Regions from separate parts of the Homo sapiens genome. Here regions 1, 3, 4 and 5 are each linked to region 2. The links are contacts of gene promoters, found by promoter capture Hi-C in blood cells and fetal thymus (Javierre and others, 2016). All regions are on one chromosome and are shown on one strand. The core of a region is centred on a gene start or on the middle of the fragment in contact, and the rest is flanking DNA. Distances in the headings are between cores, read along the strand shown.

Evidence for each region. Contacts are between HindIII fragments. The CHiCAGO score rates a contact against its expected background, and 5 or more counts as called.
Region 1: a contact is called between a fragment that was not itself captured here and the fragment with the promoter of MRPL36 in region 2, in 1 of 17 cell types (monocytes). The highest score is 12.4, in monocytes.
Region 3: a contact is called between the fragment with the promoter of BRD9 here and the fragment with the promoter of MRPL36 in region 2, in 2 of 17 cell types (monocytes and neutrophils). The highest score is 9.2, in monocytes.
Region 4: a contact is called between a fragment that was not itself captured here and the fragment with the promoter of MRPL36 in region 2, in 1 of 17 cell types (monocytes). The highest score is 5.4, in monocytes.
Region 5: a fragment that was not itself captured here is called in contact with the fragment with the promoter of MRPL36 in region 2 in 1 of 17 cell types (monocytes); the score reaches 6.7 in monocytes.

The regions. Positions count from the first base shown.
Region 1 is chr5:1,138,885-1,142,149 of GRCh38, forward strand. It overlaps a transcript of SLC12A7 not described here. Among named protein-coding and RNA genes, the nearest start is that of SLC12A7, 28 kb to the left of the region's middle. RefSeq lists an enhancer at 1,610-2,453. The HindIII fragment of the contact is 2,556 bases long and covers 174-2,729 here.
Region 2 is chr5:1,798,524-1,801,942 of GRCh38, forward strand. MRPL36 (mitochondrial ribosomal protein L36) reads right to left here and starts at 1,314. Exons shown (of 2, transcript NM_032479.4): 1 at 1,269-1,314; 2 at 1-424. The coding sequence starts at 412. The coding sequence ends at 101. NDUFS6 (NADH:ubiquinone oxidoreductase subunit S6) reads left to right here and starts at 2,884. Exons shown (of 4, transcript NM_004553.6): 1 at 2,884-3,026. The coding sequence starts at 2,895. RefSeq lists a silencer at 784-1,193 and enhancers at 2,274-2,323, 2,384-2,513, 2,693-3,419, 3,124-3,263. The HindIII fragment of the contact is 7,489 bases long and covers 1-3,419 here.
Region 3 is chr5:890,965-894,261 of GRCh38, forward strand. BRD9 (bromodomain containing 9) reads right to left here and starts at 1,837. Exons shown (of 16, transcript NM_023924.5): 1 at 1,642-1,837; 2 at 676-890; 3 at 191-323. The coding sequence starts at 1,693. It overlaps TRIP13 (thyroid hormone receptor interactor 13), which reads left to right and starts at 1,920. Exons shown (of 13, transcript NM_004237.4): 1 at 1,920-2,126. The coding sequence starts at 2,035. RefSeq lists silencers at 1,178-1,396, 1,587-2,206 and an enhancer at 1,206-1,838. The HindIII fragment of the contact is 13,625 bases long and covers 1-3,297 here.
Region 4 is chr5:1,115,386-1,118,912 of GRCh38, forward strand. It overlaps a transcript of SLC12A7 not described here. Among named protein-coding and RNA genes, the nearest start is that of SLC12A7, 5.1 kb to the left of the region's middle. RefSeq lists an enhancer at 2,031-2,564. The HindIII fragment of the contact is 317 bases long and covers 1,141-1,457 here.
Region 5 is chr5:870,397-873,819 of GRCh38, forward strand. It overlaps BRD9 (bromodomain containing 9), which reads right to left. Exons shown (of 16, transcript NM_023924.5): 13 at 1,130-1,168; 14 at 77-179. Among named protein-coding and RNA genes, the nearest start is that of BRD9, 21 kb to the right of the region's middle. The HindIII fragment of the contact is 353 bases long and covers 1,513-1,865 here.

The sequences.
Region 1 (3,265 bases), core at 202-2,701, 660 kb before region 2:
CCAGGTCCTTAACACATGCTGGGTCCTAACATGTGCCCTGAGGTGAGCCGGGGATACTCGACTCCAGGGCACTGGCCAGAAGCCTTGGACCTGCACCCACCACCCAGGCCTCTGAAAGGAGAGCAAGCTGAAGTCTTGACTTTGAAACAGCTGCAGGGGTCGCCCCTCACCCAAGCTTGGGGTGGGGGGGGGGCTCTGGGCGGCAGCAGGTGCACTTTGGGAGCCTCCGATGGTCCCCACAGCTGGGCTCCCTCCTCATCCCCATGGGCGTAGCCCACCAGGTGGCTGCTGAGTCCTCATGGTCCGTAGGCAAGAGGAAGGGGGAAAGTGTGAGCCCTTGGCCTCCACGGCAGCCGGCTGGGATCCTGGCGGGGGACCCTCGCTGGTAACAGCATCTCCCCAGGACGTGCGGCCCCAGTGCCTGCACCCAAGCCCAGCCCTGGTGGGGAGCAGCCCCTGGAAGGCAGGAACCACTCCAGGCAAATGCAGCTGGTGCTCAGCTACATCCTCACGAGGGCCCTGGGCCCCAAACCAAGAGGCGGCTCAGCCTGACAGATGCGGTTCTGGGAGCTGGGGCGGTTGACACTGCCTGGGCCTTGCCGGCTTGGCCTTCTCTGAGGGGTGGTGTCCACACAGCAGCAATGGTGCCACATGCCGGAACCTGGAACCGAGGTTGCCTCGAGAACTGTTTGGGCAGTGGCCCTAGCGGGTGTGGGTGCCGGGAAACAGGAGGCAGAGTGGCCCCCATGTTCCTCTGTAGGCGTCCGCACAGCCTGCCTTCCCCGAGTGCACACGGCGAGCTTGCTTGACCCTGGGGTGGCCACGGCCCACTTTTGTGACCCACGTCCCTCCTCCCGGCAGGCCCCGTGTCTTTGGGGAAGGTGAGTAATTCTGAATCTGGTTCCCGAGCCCCACTTCCCAGTCTAGGGCCACTACGTCCCCACGGTTCTGGGACACTTGCTGAGACAAAGGCAGATTTTGTGAGTCAAAAGGGACTTTCCACATCTCCAAACGGCGTTTCCGGATGCATGGGCCTCAGGGCTCTGATCCCAAGAAGTGCCAAGAAGACCTCTGTGGTCACAGATGCGGACCAGGCCGGGACATGCTGGAAGGTGTCAGGACACGCCCGGCCTGCACCTCTGTCTCCCAGAGCATCCCAGGTCTCAGGGCATCAAACGCTCCGAGGTCGGTGACCAGGCACCACCGCCTTGGCCTCAACCAGCACCCCAGAGGCGCCGTCCTGCCCTCAGAAGGCCCCCCAGAAACGCTGTTTCCCATCGCTGGCTGGCTGTCTCGTACCAGCCGCTGCAGCCCCGGCCCACCTGCATGCAGGGAGCAGGGCCCCATGGGAACCCAGGCAGATCCCCCTCCTGAGAAAGGTGGCCCTGCCCCAGCCAGCACATCCCAGGCGATGAGGCATGTGATCCCCATGGCCCCTCGGGTGAATCCTGACCGCCAATCTGCACACACAGCCACACCTGCGTCTCCATCTCCCTCGGTTCTGTTCCCCCCCACCGGGTCTGGAAGACACTGGTAAGCAGGGGAGGAGGAAACAGGTGCAGCTCCAGCGAGGCGGTGCTCCCTGCTGGTGAGTGGGTGCCCCCTGCTGGTGAGGGGGGGTGCTCCCTGCTGGCTTCCCCTCCCCACAGCTGTCCCTGGAGGGAGGCGTCATTCTGTAAACAGGGAGATGGGGTTCAGGACGGTGCCAGCATGCCCAGCAATCCCGGAGTTCCCCGTGCTCAGGAACTCGCACCGCTGGCTCCACGCTCTCTACTCCAGTGGGACAAGAAAGCTCTGCTCACCAGGCAACGAGAGGCGCAAGGGCGGAGCCCAGGGCCCCGGGGAGGGCTCAGGTGGCTGGCGGAGGGGGTGCAGGGAAGGGAGATTCACCCAGGAGGGCCATTGACAAGCACTGGCTGGGGAGGGATGTGGTCACTGCACCGGCATGACAGCTCGGAGTAGCTTCTAGGTGACCACGCCATGGGAGAATGTTCTGAGGGGAACCCCTTGGGAGGCTCAGCATGAGGCAGAGCCGTTGGGGGCTGCAGCCAAGGTGGGCAAGCTGGGCCTGGGCCAGTTCAGAGCAGCCAGGCTGAGGGGGAGGGTGGACACGGGACGTTTATACCAATACGCTCGGGCCGCTGTGGAAATGAGTGCAGCCAGGCTGTGCACACCACAGACACGTCTCGAAGCCTCGGGCCTGAAGTCCCAGGTCAGTGTGTGGCTGGGCTGCTCCCCTGAGCTGTAGGCGGGCACCGGTTCCGGCCTCTTCTTGGCTTGCAGGCCCCAGCTTCTCCCTGTGTCTCTGTATCGTCCCTGCTCTGTGAGTGTCTATTTCTGTGTCCAAATTCCCCCTTTTAATAAGGACACCCGTTATATTGAATTAGGATGCACCCCTGTGAGCTGTCACTTGATGACCTCTGCAAACAGCTCCCTCCCAATACCATCACATTCTCAAGTGCTAGGCAGTAGGACCCCCAGTCCTCTCCCAGTCCTAATGGAGAGATGTCACTGAGCCTGTAACTTGGCTGTCCCAGCCGTCCCTGCTGCCACGGGCACCACAGCCGCCATGGGCACCAGAGCCGCCACGGGCACCACAGCTGTCCCTGCCTCCCTCTCTGTGCTCTCCCCTGGCTTGTTTTCTGTATCTCCTGGGATGGAGGCTCCCTGGGGACTGTCTTCCCCACTGTGTCCTCAGCACCCAGACCTCACTGGGACAGCAGCCACTAAGCTTGTGTGGTCACTGAAGTTTATATTTAAGTTAAAATTTTTTTTAAAAAATGAAGAATCCAGGTCCTCAGCCACAGCAGCTACAGCTCAAGTGCCGATAGCCACATGTGGCCGGTGGCTGCTGCATAGGACAGCGTGGACAAGGAATAACTCCGTTGGTGCAGAGAGGCCACTGGACACTCAGGCAGAGACAAGAGGGTTCGCCGGGACAGATCAACAGATGAACAAATTCAGAACAAAATGCTTAGTGAGGGAGAAGTGAACTTTCATTTTGCCCAAGTCACCATTATCATGGGTGCTGCTGGCAGGATCAGACCTGGTCATGTGGAGTCTGAAGTGCTCCCAGCCACCAACTGTGGCTGTTGCTTAGAGATACCCCTCTTCCCTGCAGCCCTGCAGGACTTCCCGGGGCTTCCTGGCCTCCACCTTTGCTTCTGGTGCTAGAGGCGGGGCAGGTGGCGTCAGGGTGGCCACTCCCCTCCCCAGAGCTGCACTGGGCCGCAGTCAGTTCACCCGGCCACCCCTGGCAGCATCT
Region 2 (3,419 bases), core at 64-2,563:
TTCCCCTGACTCCTTGATGTGATAATTCCTTCCATAAGATACAACCATTCTCCCAAGTGATGCGATGACGAGTATGTGCGTGACTCTGGAGGGAAAGGGTCTACATCTGTCTCTGCTTGTGCCTCGGATGGGTTTTACAGTAGACGTACCACCGACCCCGCCTCTTCACCAGGTAACAGTCCTTGCAGCGCTTCTTAAGGACAGTCTTGTTTTTGAACCCCAGCGCAGGCAGCAGATGGGGCAGGAGGCCGGGTGAGAGAAGTGAGCGCACTGCTGCCCCGGGTTCCACAGCCACGGGGGCTGCACCTCGAATGGATCCAAATAGAAATGTGGAGAGGGCTCGAGGCTTCACCGTGTGACGACTGAGATAGAGCAGAGGGTTCACCATTTTCCTTATAAAAAGATTTGCCATGTTGTGGTGAATCTATGGGAGAGAGAAAAAAAGGAGTTATAGCTTCTCCTGCACTTCCACCTGCTCTTTAAGGCTTCCTTTTCTCTGTTTCACTGAGGCTTGGGAAGGCAGGGACCTCGGGGACTGAGGGTGTTCCCATACCAGCTGCAGCCTCGACCTGAGCTTGAACACTGCCTTAATCAGCCAAGTGTGCCAGGAGAATAAGGGGCAGTGGACGGTGGCTTCCTTCCCTTTCCCGCCTGCTGCAAGTGTAGGTGAGTGTGCAAAGCCCTGCGATGTTGAGGAGCCGCTCACTTGGCTGGGAGGGAGCTTAAACTTAGGCCGCATCCCTTTCCAAACAGACACCAGGTCAAGGACGGTTCAACTGATGAGCTCCTCCCTCCAACTCTTCCCAGACCCAGGGGCCCTCCCTCGGGCCAGTTTCGGGACAGGCCCCCGCTCCGGAAGAGCACGGAACTCTGGCACCCCGGTCGCCCGCCCCTGCTTCCCCACGCGCCCCGGCCCTTAGGGTTCAGCGGCCCCGGCTGGGAAGAGCTGGGCCTGCAGGGCCCGGAGGACACTGCGGCACCGGAGCCGGCCCTGCGCGCGGGCTGTGAGGTCGCGTTCGGGAGCCGCCAGTTCTCCCGCCCCGGGGTCGCTGGACACCCCCTCCTGTCGCCAGGTCGGGCGCCCACGGTCGGACCCGCACCCCCCAACCCTGGCCCTCTGAGACCGCCAGGCCCCGGCCCACGCTCCTCTGACCGCAGCCCACTCGGGGAGACACGCCCGAGGGTCCCAAGGTGGCCGGCCCCACCCTCTCGCAGCCCCCACTCTCAAGACACCCGGGACCCCTGACCTGAGAAGACGGCTCCCTTACCCGGCCGCACGCTCTCACCCGGCGCCGACCCCTGCGTCTGCGCACTGGCACGCGGACGCTGCTGCCAGGAAGGAAGATGGCGGCGGGGGGGGGGGTCACGTGGCGTGCCCACGTCCAGTGCGGGGCGCAGAGACGCAGCAGCGAGTGCGCAGGCGCTGGAGTGCGACGTATCACTCCCCGACTGCGCGCACTCTGCGGGCCACCGGGATCGTCGTGCTGTTTGGAGCGCTCTCGGGAAAAAAAATGCAAAAACCAGGAACGAAAATGGATATCCGCAACGAAAAAGAAATTACAACCACTTAGGCCTTAGAAAAAACTGGCAAATACCAATGTCAAAACAAACTGAGAAAGAGGACATGTTTTTAAGTGGACAGGAGAAATGTAAACAGGCTCCGGGAAACGAGTGGAGACGGGCAGTAGTTTCAACTGGTTACGGCTGTTTTCCCCAACATTATGAAAAACTTCGGACATAGAGAAAAAGGGAAAGAACTGTACGGTGAACACCCATATACTTGCCACCTAGATTCTACCCTTAGCTCGCTTATCCCTGCCTTTTCAGGTATCTACCCGTAACTCCATTCGCCTTCCTTTTTGTGTGTGTCCGGGTGAGTTGCAGACGTGGCTGCGTCCACTCCGCGCTCCCTGCAGGCCCCAACGCTTCATCGCAGCGCCCACTTTTTCCACCTGACCCGGCGAACACCGGGCGGGCCGCTGGAGTTTATCAGCTCCAGGACAAATCTGCCTCTGACCACCACGTTTGCTGGGACATCTTTGGGACCGGAGGTTTTCATGTGCATTCTTGTTTCTCATGCCTTTCCTCCTCTTTATCATCTTCCCCGCCACTCATCCATCTCTAGTGTTTTGTTCTTGGAGTCACGTGGTCCTCAGGCTCTGACCACAGCAAAAGAAAAGCTGGATGCTGGAGCTTAAGCTGGGATTTATACCCAAGTCAACTCTAAGCAAAACGGGCCTTTTTAGAGGCTGTATTTGCATGCTGTAAAATCAGTCGGTGTACTAGGCTTTGTTGCAGAAATCCCCAATATACGTTTCCTCTGCGGCTCCCCGTAACCACACACAGGAACGCTTGCCTTGAACGAGGAGAATGCACTTCCAGTCTCGTCTGCTAAGCAGTTGACTCCTTCACCCAATAATTTTGATATTTAAATGTCTCATGATTATCGGTTACCATAAGAATATAAACAATGTATTTTCAGTTTACATCCTCCCCTGCCTGTCCGCTAAATAAGAACCACTGGGTACTCCTAATCGCTGAAGGTTTCGCACACCATTGCCTGCCTCATCAGGGCCCTAGCTCTAGCCTGCGGCTGCAACTGCATGAGGCTGCACCTGCCGGCGCAACGGGGCCGCTTAACTTTTAGGCCATTGATGAAAAGTCAAACAAGCGCACAGTACTCGGTGTAATCAGGGGCATTTTTAGCGAGATACCTGGGATGAAAACGGGTGACCACCTGAATCAGAGAGCAGCTCCGGCGCACCCTCTGCCCCGACCCGCGCTCCCCGCCCCCAGGGCGAAATAAATACCGGGTGTTTGGCGCCGCCAGAAGCCGTGCGCATGCGTTAGCGCTAAGCGGGACGTTGCGCCGGGTCAAAGGCCAGCGGCGCAAAATGGCGGCGGCGATGACCTTCTGCCGGCTGCTGAACCGGTGTGGCGAGGCGGCGCGGAGCCTGCCCCTGGGCGCCAGGTGTTTCGGGGTGCGGGTCTCGCCGACCGGGGAGAAGGTCACGCACACTGGCCAGGTAACGGCCGCTGGGTACAGGATGCACCTTCCTCCAGCCGCACCTCGGGCGACTGGTGGCAGTGGGCTCGCCGGGCATCCGCGGCCCTGGTTCTGCGCCGGCAGCGCAGGTCGTGGTAAGGTTGTGCTGTCGCTCACGCGCCGGGGAGGACGCCCGCGAGTCGGGACGGTGGTGGCAGCCTGTAGCGGTGGGTCTCGTCCTTCCAGGGCCTGCGGGCTCTGGAACGGGAAGTCTCCCCAGCGGGCAGCACTTGCTGTGGACTGGCTGCCCATAGGCGATTTGTGGCAGCCGATTATTTGGGTCAGAACGTTTAGAATTTGTGTAATATTCAATAATAAATTTTAGTAACCTGAGAAGTCGGTTGTAGTCCAAGGCACAAAAAAGCCCTAAGCC
Region 3 (3,297 bases), core at 587-3,086, 910 kb before region 2:
ACGCCTTGCTCTAGACATTCAGAGACACCGGAGGAAACCTCAGGCCAGAGGACACCTGGGATGAGGCCCTGGAAATACCAGCTCTCCTCCCTCCCATGCTTCTCCCCAAAGCAACAGGACACGGTGCCGACCCCTCATTTACAACGATGAGCTGTGAACACCAGGAGAGTCTCTAAAAGTGCACCCTTGCCTGGCTGTGTCCGGCACGCTCGGACTGGCCGATCTGGGGGCGGCTCCACCTCCACCTTCTTCCCAGGATCAAAGTCGTCAGCCTCTCCCTCCGTGTCACAGTGCTCCCTCTCTCGCTTCCGCTTCTTCTCTTCCTGGGCGGCAGAGTCAAGGGAGTGAGAAAGGCAGGAGTAGGCGGGATCCGGACAGGTCTGCCCAATCCCCTCGCAGTTCTCAGGGGAGGGACAGAACTAAGGGAAACCCCCTCCGAGATCCTCCTCATGCCAGGCTCCCTCCTCACAGAGACCCTGGCAGGGTCTGCTGAGGAACAGCACACCCAGGATCCTGGAACTGAGTCTGCGGGCCTCAGCGGTTCGCGTTTTGCTACCAACGGAACACCCCCTCCCCTCCTCCAGCCACGCAGGCGCACTCTGCCTGGGTCCTGGGACCAGGCTCCCCACGGGCTCCTCGTGGGCAGCGTCCGGGCCACCGCCGCTGCTCCTTTACCTTTCGCTTCCTTCTTTCCTCATCGTCCAGATGCTTCTCCTTCTCGGACTTCTTCTTCTTCTTCTTTTTCTTTTCTTTGTGCCTCTCTCGCTCATGGTCTGACCTGTCATCATAGTAACTGGAGTCGTGGCCGGATCCTGAGAGTTCAGTCACTTCACTTCCTCCGACCTTCAGGACTAGCTTTAGAGGCTTCTCCAGGGGCTTGTCGGCATAATCTGCACAGACACAGACCGAGTTCTACCCGCGTGCTCAGGTGCAAACGCCACGCAGCCAGGTGAGACGTGAAGGTGCTAAGAGGGAAAGGCCTCCCTAAGGAGTACAGCGGGGCTGCCAACCAGCAGGGAAAGACGGAAGGGAAGACCACAGTGGCGGCATGTCACTGCCTCCTTGTTCTCCCTTCCCCTCCGCAGGGAGCTTCAGGTCCCTTTCGAGCCACGGTGTCCTCACCAGAGGCCCTGTGGGATGTTGTTCACATTACTCGTTCAAGAAGATGGATTAAGAGGGACCTGGAACCCCGGAGCCCGATCTCCCTCCTAGAAACCCCCAGCACTTCGGTTCACCCTCGCCTGACTTCCTGCAGGCGCCCGTGCTGCCCGCTGACACCCATGGAGCTGCTGCGGGAGCAAGGGAGAGGGAGGGAAAGGCGGGAGAAAGGGCAGCCCAGCTTCTCCCTGAGCTCCACACAAAAGCCAGCACAGATGCTTCCCTAGTCTCCAGGACCGGGGTGAGTGGGCTTGCAGCCTCGAACCCAGAACCCTCTACCAGGAACGTAAGCGCCTACCCAGGACCCCTCACGTGTGCCCGGTTCCCTGCCCGAAATCCCAGGACCCCCTCCCGCGTGCCCAGAACCCCTCCCTCGTGGCCAGGACCTCGCCCGGTGCCCAGGACCCCCGTCCGCGTGCCCGGAACTCCTCCCCCGTGCCCGGGACCCCGCCCGCCGCGCGTCACAAAGCGCCGCCGCCTCACCCTCGTAGGACGAGCGCCACTCGGCCTTGTGCTTCTTGTGCTTCTTGCCCATGGCGGCGCCGGCGGCGGGCCCGAGGCGGGGGCTGGGAACAGCTGGCACCCGGTCGGACCTTGGCCGCCACCGCCCCCTGGCCCTGGCTGGCCGCCCGCGCTCGCTGCGCCGAGGTTGCCGAGCTCGCTGGGCCGCGCCGGAAACGGGGCGAGGCGGGGCCGCGGCAGGAAGTGGCCCTGCCGGGCCCGAGCGCTTCCGGGTCAGGAGGTGGTGCGCCTCGCGCGGCAGATTCGAAGCTAGGGCGGGGCCCGCGGGCTGAGGCAGCGGCTGTGGCGGCGACGCTGGGCGTGAGGTGGCGGCGGCCGCGCCCTGGTTGGGTCCCCACTGCTCTCGGGGGCGCCATGGACGAGGCCGTGGGCGACCTGAAGCAGGCGCTTCCCTGTGTGGCCGAGTCGCCAACGGTCCACGTGGAGGTGCATCAGCGCGGCAGCAGGTGAGCCGGACCTGTCCGACACATCCTCTGGGCACCCACCCGCCCCGACCCCAGCGCGTGCACCGAGCCCCGACCCCAGCGCACTGATTCTGATGCGACCGAACCCCAGGGTACTGATCCGGCCCGACTGGACCCGGGCGCACAGGCCGCCGGGCCCCGACCGGATCCTAGCGCAATGACGCGACCCCACCGCAGGGCACTGACCCGGCCGACCCGAGCCCTGCGCGCAGGACCCCAGCTCACAGATTGAGCCCCGACCCGACCTCAGCTCACGGACCTGGCCCTGACCCTGCCCCTGCCCCGGCTGTCCTCCAGTGCATTGATGTGGCCCTGAGTCCCACGTTGGAGAATAGGATGGCTGCGCATTACAGAGAGCTCTAGTCTCAGCCGAAAGCTGGGTGGTTATTCTTTGAGCCACTGCTTCTCAGACCCTTTAATTGTTCCCGTTCCTCACGGACTCGATGTTAAATTTTTAGGGTTCAAAGCACATCCCACTCATTTGTGACCAAGTCAGTTCATGGTATGGTGGGGCCTGTGGGCTGTGCTGCTCCCTGGAGTGGGGGGAACTCAGCGGCGGGGCCAGACCTTCACAGACCCTCCTTATGTCCACGGAGGGTGGATTGAGGTCAGGTGAGACCACCAGCCTCAGAGGGGATGCAGAGGAAGAGACCTTTCCTTTAACAGAATAGCTGTTGACTGGGTATTTTCTAGGTGCTGGAGTTCAGACACGTCAGCATAATTGCACCAGGGCCCAGAGACACCTGCACAAAGCCCCATCACAGCCTGGCGACACCTGTGTAAACACCTTAGCGCTCAGAGACACCTGTACACAGTGCCACCGCAGCCTAGAGACACCCCATGTACAACCACACCTGGGCCCAGAGACGCTAGGCATAATCACACCAGAGCACAGCTGCACCTAGAGGACAGACACCTACGTACAACTGCACCAGAGTTCATAGACACCTGCACACAACCGCACTATGCATGGTGGTCGCTGCTTGTAGGGTGCTGGGACGATTGCAAAGGGGCCACATGTCACCTGCCTGGCTCTGAGGAGCCTGTCCAGGAGGGCTCAGAGGGAGGCAGACATTGAATAGGACTTAGAGGGTGACTGCAGTTGATCAGGCCAGTAAGCTGGGACAGTGCATAGCAGGGCACAGAGGTGTGA
Region 4 (3,527 bases), core at 49-2,548, 680 kb before region 2:
GGGCTGTGGCCTGGGAGGGCTCTCACCAGACGCAGGCTGCCTCCAGGTATCTGTGTGCCTCTGCCCACGGAGCTTCTCCCCAGGTCCGCGGGTCCCCCCAGTCCACTTCTGCTTTCCTGTTAGGGTGGGGGGCTCATCTCCTGGTGCGCCATCTGCATCCTTCTGGGCTGGGAACCTGCTGTCGGGTATCAGGCAGGGCGCACCTCCAGGGCTGAAGGATGCAGGTGGGGCTGGCAGGCAGAGTGTCCGTGGAGAGCTCCGTGTCCAGGGAAGGGGACACCTGGAGGAGGCCGGCCCTGGAGGCCCCACACTCCTTCTCACCAGAAAGCCACCCGCCTTCTGCCTGGCAGGGCCGGGCACCCACCCAGGTTCTTGCCTGTTGGCCCAGCACCCATGGTGAGTGGGGGAGAGAGCGAATAGGGCAGAGCAGAAGAGAGAGGGGAGGAAGGAGAATCGGGGGAAGGGGGAGGGAAAGGAAAGAGGTGGGAAGGGAGGAGAGGGAAGGGAGGCCCCAGTTACCCAAGGCTAAAGTGATTTTTAAAAAACAAACCTTTTTTTTTTTAAGCGTGGTGAGCCTCTCCTGGCAGGGTGGGGTATGTGGACATCAGTGGAGGAAGCAGAGTCTCCGGCCACCTGTGGGACCCACACTCTCCCTGCCCAGGAGTCCCACCAGGGCCGAGAATTCTGCCCATGGCCAGGGTGGCCCTAAAGCCCCACATCCGCCACCACCTGTGGGGGCTCGAAGGGAGCTGTGGTAGGCAGGGATGACAGAAGACCCCAGCCACAGCCCCAGGCCCATGGCTGCATCTCCCCTGAAGAAGCAGCCCTGTCCCAAGGGTTCTGCAAACAATGCCAGGCTCTTCCCAGGCAGGCACCGCAAGCTGCCCCCCGCCCCGATCCCTGGCTTGCCCAGGGCGGGGCCTCTGGGCCTGGTGGATGGTGGGCCTGGCCTGGCGCTGGGGAGCCTGTCTGCACAGTGGCCAGGTACGTGGGGTTCTGAGCCTCCCCCGGGTCCTGTGCCTGCTGGGCAGGGGTACATCCCATGGAGCTGAATCTGGGAATAGAAGGGGCCTCCCCTCCCACAGAGCTCGTCTCAGACCATCTGTGTCTGAGACTGTAAGTGACGCCAACAGAAGGTCAAGCTTGAGCGACAAAGCTCTCAGTCCTGTAATTCACGGACACTGAGTCTTCGCTCAAGTTCCCTCTGGAAGATTCCGTGGATGAGTCCGACACACTCTTCCCCTCACTCAGGAGGCTCCAGGATTTTTAGACCACGTGTGTGGCTTTCCTTCTCTCAAAGTGTAACTCACATAATGTTACTCAGAATCTCACACGGACGCCCGTGAGTTGCAGACACAGGGAAGGTTCGCATCTCCTCTGAAGTCCAAGCTGCCCAGAAGCCCACCCACCCCCCGCCAGCTCTCGTTCCTGCTCCACAGGTGACTTCTTTCCCGTGAAGCTTGGGCAAATGTTTGCTGTCGGCTCAGGGGGAAAGGCCATGCCAGGGTCCAGATGGGCTCAAAACCTCCCAACCTGGCAGACACGCAGCCCTTCAGAAATGGAAGCAGAGCCCAGGACACGATGTGGCCAATCCTCTCTCAGACGTCATAAAGAGCTGGGTTTGGAAGACGAGGCCAACCCTCATGGATGCCGCCCCCGACCCCAGCAACACCATGAGATCAGGGATTTGCTGGCTCTGTCTCAGAGCCGCGGAGGGTCCTGCTCAAACCCCAGAGCCGTGGGGATGGGCTGGGGGGCTGGTGGGGAGCGTACTGCGAGGGGCCACTGAGCAGGCTGGGGTGAGCTGGGCCTGGCCTGCGGGGGTGGGGGTGCAGCCTTCGCTGGGGAGGCAGCCAGGGAAGGGGTTCCTACCAGCCCGAGATGGAGCAACGAAGCAACTAGTGAAGCCAAGTTTGCAAAATTATCACCGTTGGTGGAAGGGTTCCGACCTGACTCCATCTTGGTTCTGACCTCCAAGCTGTCCTTGTTCCTTCCTGGGCGTAGGCTGAACTAACTTTGGGAGGAACTTAGTTTATAGTTAAAATAAACCTCCTTCTTGCCTGAGGGCTAGACTGCCTTTGTAGGATTAACAAATTAGCCACAAGATTAAAGAAATTGTGGTTTAGGAGTCATGCAGCTGGAGGCTACAAGATTCTGACCCTCCCTAAACTGCTCCTAAAATCCATGCTTGAGATGTTTTGCGGATCCTTGTTGCGCTAGATGGATCAGCTGGCACCACTCAGACCAATAGACTGGCTCATCTGATCTTGTGACCCCCACCAGGAACAGACTCCGCACAAAAGGACAGCTTCAATTCCCTATGAGTTCATCTCTGACCTGACCAATCAGCACTCCTGGCTCACTGGCTTCCTCACCCACTAAGCTGTCCTTAAAAACTGATCCCTGCCGGGCGCGGTAGCTCACGCCTGTAGTCCCAGCACTTTAGAAGGCTGAGGTGGGTGGATCACGAGGTCAGGAGATCGAGACCATCCTGGCTAACACGGTGAAACCCCGTCTCTACTAAAAATACACACAAAAACATTAGCCGGTCATGGTGGCAGGTGCCTGAAGTCCCAGCTACTCGGGAGGCTGAGGCAGGAGAATGGCGTGAACCCGGGAGGCGGAGCTTGCAGTGAGCTGAGAGCACGCCACTGCACTCCAGCCTGGGGGATAGAGTGAGACTCTGTCTCAAAAAAAGAAAAAAAGAACTGATCCCAAATGTGTGGGGAGACTGATTTCAGTAATAATAAAACTCCGGTCTCCCACACAGCCAGCTCTGCGTGAATCCCTCTTTCCCTATTGCGATTCCCCTGATTTGAGTGACAGTAAAACTCCGGTCTCCTGCACAGCCAGCTCTGCGTGAGTCATTCTTTCTCCCCTGTAATTCCCCTGTCTTGATCCATCAGCTCTGTCTGGGCAGCAGGCAAGGTGAACCCATTGGGCGGTTACATGAGGGGGAGTCCATGGGCCTCAGCCCCTTGAACAGAGAGATAAGAAGATCCCACACTGGGAAACGTTTCAGTGCAATCTGAGAACATCGTGGGCAGGCCTGGCAGCCATCCAGACCCGGCAGAAGAGTCTTCCTGGCAGCAGCGCCAGGGATTCTCCAAAAACAGGTGTGACCCAGACTCGCGCCCTCGCCAGACACAGATGAGCTGTTGGCCAAATGCGAAGGCCGCCAAAGCCGTCCTTGGGCGTGAAAGGTCTTGGGAAGTTTCCCCTTTCTAGACCGGGGGATGCCTCTTGCCAGGAAATTCGAATGAGTCCAGGAGGAAGGAGAAAGCCTGGACCTGACGTAGGCCTCAGAGAGCCTGGTCTCACCCATTTCTAATGGAACCCATTAAAAATCAGACAGTGTGGGGGACCCAGACAACAGTAAACAGCTGTGCTCATAACATCAAATGTGCTGGCCCCGCAGCCTTGCAGGTACCAAGGTTGTTTCTGGTGGCTTCTTCCAAGGCTGTGGGAGGTGTGGGCGTGTCTCGCTGAACTTCTGGGCCGGCTGGCGGGAGAGGCAGAGCTGGCGC
Region 5 (3,423 bases), core at 439-2,938, 930 kb before region 2:
GAGGTGGAGGCCGTGTGTTTTCTTCCTCTATCACACCTTCACCAGGTGCTGTGGGAAAGTGCCTGTTACAACTCACCCAGAGAGCTGAGCATGGAGATATCCACAGAAACGTCGGGATAGGACTTCATCGACATGAACTCCAGAACAGAGCTGCTGCTGTCTCCTAGGGTGTCCCCAACCTGTGGAGACAGACACACATCAAGAGCAATTCAAACATCAAACGAAAAACGAAATGTTACTTCACACTCGCTATTGAAATCACTCTAATTATTTGCTAAACGTGAACCCACCCCTCAGTAAGTGACAAGACCAAGCCCTGTTCACTGAGGCTGCTGTTCAAGGGACTGTCAGGTTGGAGCTCATGAATGGATATGCAAATCCATGTCAAAGAAAAACCTACTGAGACCAACAACGCAAACTAACAATCCTTTGTTAACTTTTTGGGGCTAAAGAAATTGGGGAGGGACATTATGCAACAGGAAGACACACAGAATTTTAGGGTCCAGGACTATTTCTCAGGCACTTCACAGAGCACACAACGTTCCCTTTCCTTTCCCAGCAAGGCGTGTCCTCAGGGCTAGACTACAGCCACCCTAACACATACTCTCTCATCAGCTCCCTGCAGCTCGGCCTCTGCCCTCAAACAGATGTTAAGGGGTCTCTCCAGGTTCCCAGGGACCCTGGACCAAAGCCCAAGCCCATGCCTGCTGACTGTCAGAGACACACACCTGCCAATCGGCAGGTGCAGCAGTCTGGGCTCACAGCACTGCCCTGCCAGCACTGGCCCCAGAGCCCACTGTGCTTGGGACAACACCTGCTACTCACCAAGCAGGTCCTGAGAAGGCCCATCCTGCCCAACCCTTGCAAGGGTGTCCCACAAGGACAGCACCCAGCGGGGCCAACTGCTCTGAAACTACCCATTTCTGGATTTGGAAGAATGTACTGCGGCTTCACACCACTCACCTCAAGTCATGAAAAGAGGAGGAGAAACACTATTGATCTTACTGATCAGAAACGGACTCCATTTCTAAACGCCGTCATACACACAGACCTCCCCACCTCAAAGGCTGGATACAACTTTCCCTGTGAGAATAATATTTGGCTTGCCCTTCCATGTTCAAAAACTTACCTTGGCTTCATCTGGAGGCTTCATGGGAACATTTCTTCTCTGAAAAGTAAATGAGGACAGAAACTAGTTTTTCCAGAGTGATTTCATAGAAACGGACAATTCGCTGACATTACACACACGTAAAAATGGCTTGTGCGCTTCTGCGAATTCTGCTCCCCAGTCACACCATCTTAATGGATTAAGGCTGGGGGTCCTCCAAACCTTCTTCATCACCAGTCACTGACCCAACCACGCCCAGCCCCCTCCTCAGCGCCAGGATTGTGTGCCGGGGACAGCGCTCCACAGGGCGAGATGGAGCGGACAGAGAGAGGACGCCGATGCTGTTTCGGCAGCCTTGGGTGGCTTAAAACAAAAGAAAAAAGATGTGCCTAGATCCTATGGGAAGCTTAGGATAAGAAGGGTCTCGTGGGTTCCACCTGGAATATGACCAGTTGCCTGAGACCAGCTCGAGTCCTGCAGGGGCAGGTGTGTGCAGGAGCAAAGGAGGCAGACACCTCCTGGCAGTGCCTGTGGCAGGTGGGCCTGCCGTGGGCGCAGGAGCGAAGGAGGCAGACACCTCCTGGCGGTGCCTGCAGCAGGTGGGCCGGGCCGTGCATTGTCTCCTTCCACAACTGTCGGCCTCCGTGGCACACCCGTCCTGTGCTCCGGTGGAGCGATGCTGTAGTATATGCACTCTATCATGTGTGATCTTTGTTCGAAATAATGTTTCTCAGATTCAATGACATCGATTTTCACAAGCTTTTAATTAGAAAATGAATACTGCTGTTTTGTTCGCATCTGTTTCCCCAAAAGCCTTCAGTCACTTTAGTCCTGAGCATCATTTACTGCGGGGGTGCACTCGGGGTCACTCAACTCCATATCCAAGTTCACTTTCCCGAAAGGAATCTAACTGGAACCCAGAGAGGAAACCACAGAGCCTTCCCATTTCCGGGCTGTGAGGGGGTCACTTTCCCTACCCCACAGCAATGCCTGATTCTAACGCTGTGTTGGGGGGGCCAGCTTCCTGCCTGGAAGGAGCCTGCAGGCCACGACACGGGAGGGTGACCAGAGCTCAGAGTCAGAACCACGAGCTGGTGGGGCAGGCTCTGCAGAGGGGGCTGCTCCTCAGAGCTGCAGAAATCTGCTTGGGGACTCCCGCCTGGCTGCAACCCTCTCTTCAGGGGCCTGCGAGCCCTCCAAGCATGGAAATCAAGGAAAATCTTGAGTTCCTTCAAGGGAAATTCCAGTTACTTAGATAACTCTGAGAAGTAAATCAGCGACTTGATAAGCAAGAAGGTAACAGTATCCTAAAACAACAGTCAAGGAAGGTGGAGACAGATGTTTGTTCCCTGTAGAAAGTAAAGACAACCTCCCAGCACTGTTCCCTGTAGAAAGAAAAGACAACATCCTACCACTCTGGGAGGCTGAGATGGATGCATCATTTGAGGTCAGGAGTTAAAGACCAGCCTGGCCAACATGGCGAAACTCCGCCTCTACTAAAAATACAAAAATTAGCCAGGTGTGGTGGCGCATGCCTGTAATCCCAGCTACTCGGGAGGCTGAGGCAGGAGAATCGCTAGAATCAGGGAGGCAGAGGTTGCAGTGAGCCACAATCACGCCACTGCACTCCAGCCTGGGTGACAGAGTGAGACTCTATGTCTCAAAAAGAAAAAAAAAGAAAGAAAGTAAAGATAACATCTTAATGTATATCCCTGAGTTGTCTTTCAGAAACCTGGACCCTCCACCTAGGACCTCCCCAACAAACTAATCTACTGGCATGAAGGGCTCAGATAAGGAGAAACTGAAGACTGAGCTCTGACCCCGTTCTTTGTTCTGAATTTCTTCCTGACGGGCCTGGAGGAAGCCACACCCACAAGCCTAAGCTAACATTCTTTTCTCTTCACCCCAAATTTTTAAACAAAGCTTCTCCTCCTTAACCAGCTGCAAATCAGAAAACCTTTGAATCCACCTATAACCTATAAGGCCCTGCTTGCAGATACCGCCCTTCTAGGCCAAGCCGACATGTAACCTCTGTGTCCTTATGCACGACTCTGCCTTTCAGTTCTGCTTTCCTGAGATCTACCCCCGCTTTACAAGCCTTGCCTGTAGCCAGTGGGGGAGGCCAGGATTTATACATGAGCCTCCTGGCCCACCTTGCTTGGCGCCCTGCAAATACACACGTCCTTTCTATGACAAAACCTCGGCATGGGTGTCTGGGTTTACTGCACCAGGCATGTGGACCCCAGTTCATCTGTAACAAGCACAGATGAAACCGTCAGGTCAAGGGACTGACCCCTCCTTGGGAGCCATGAGCC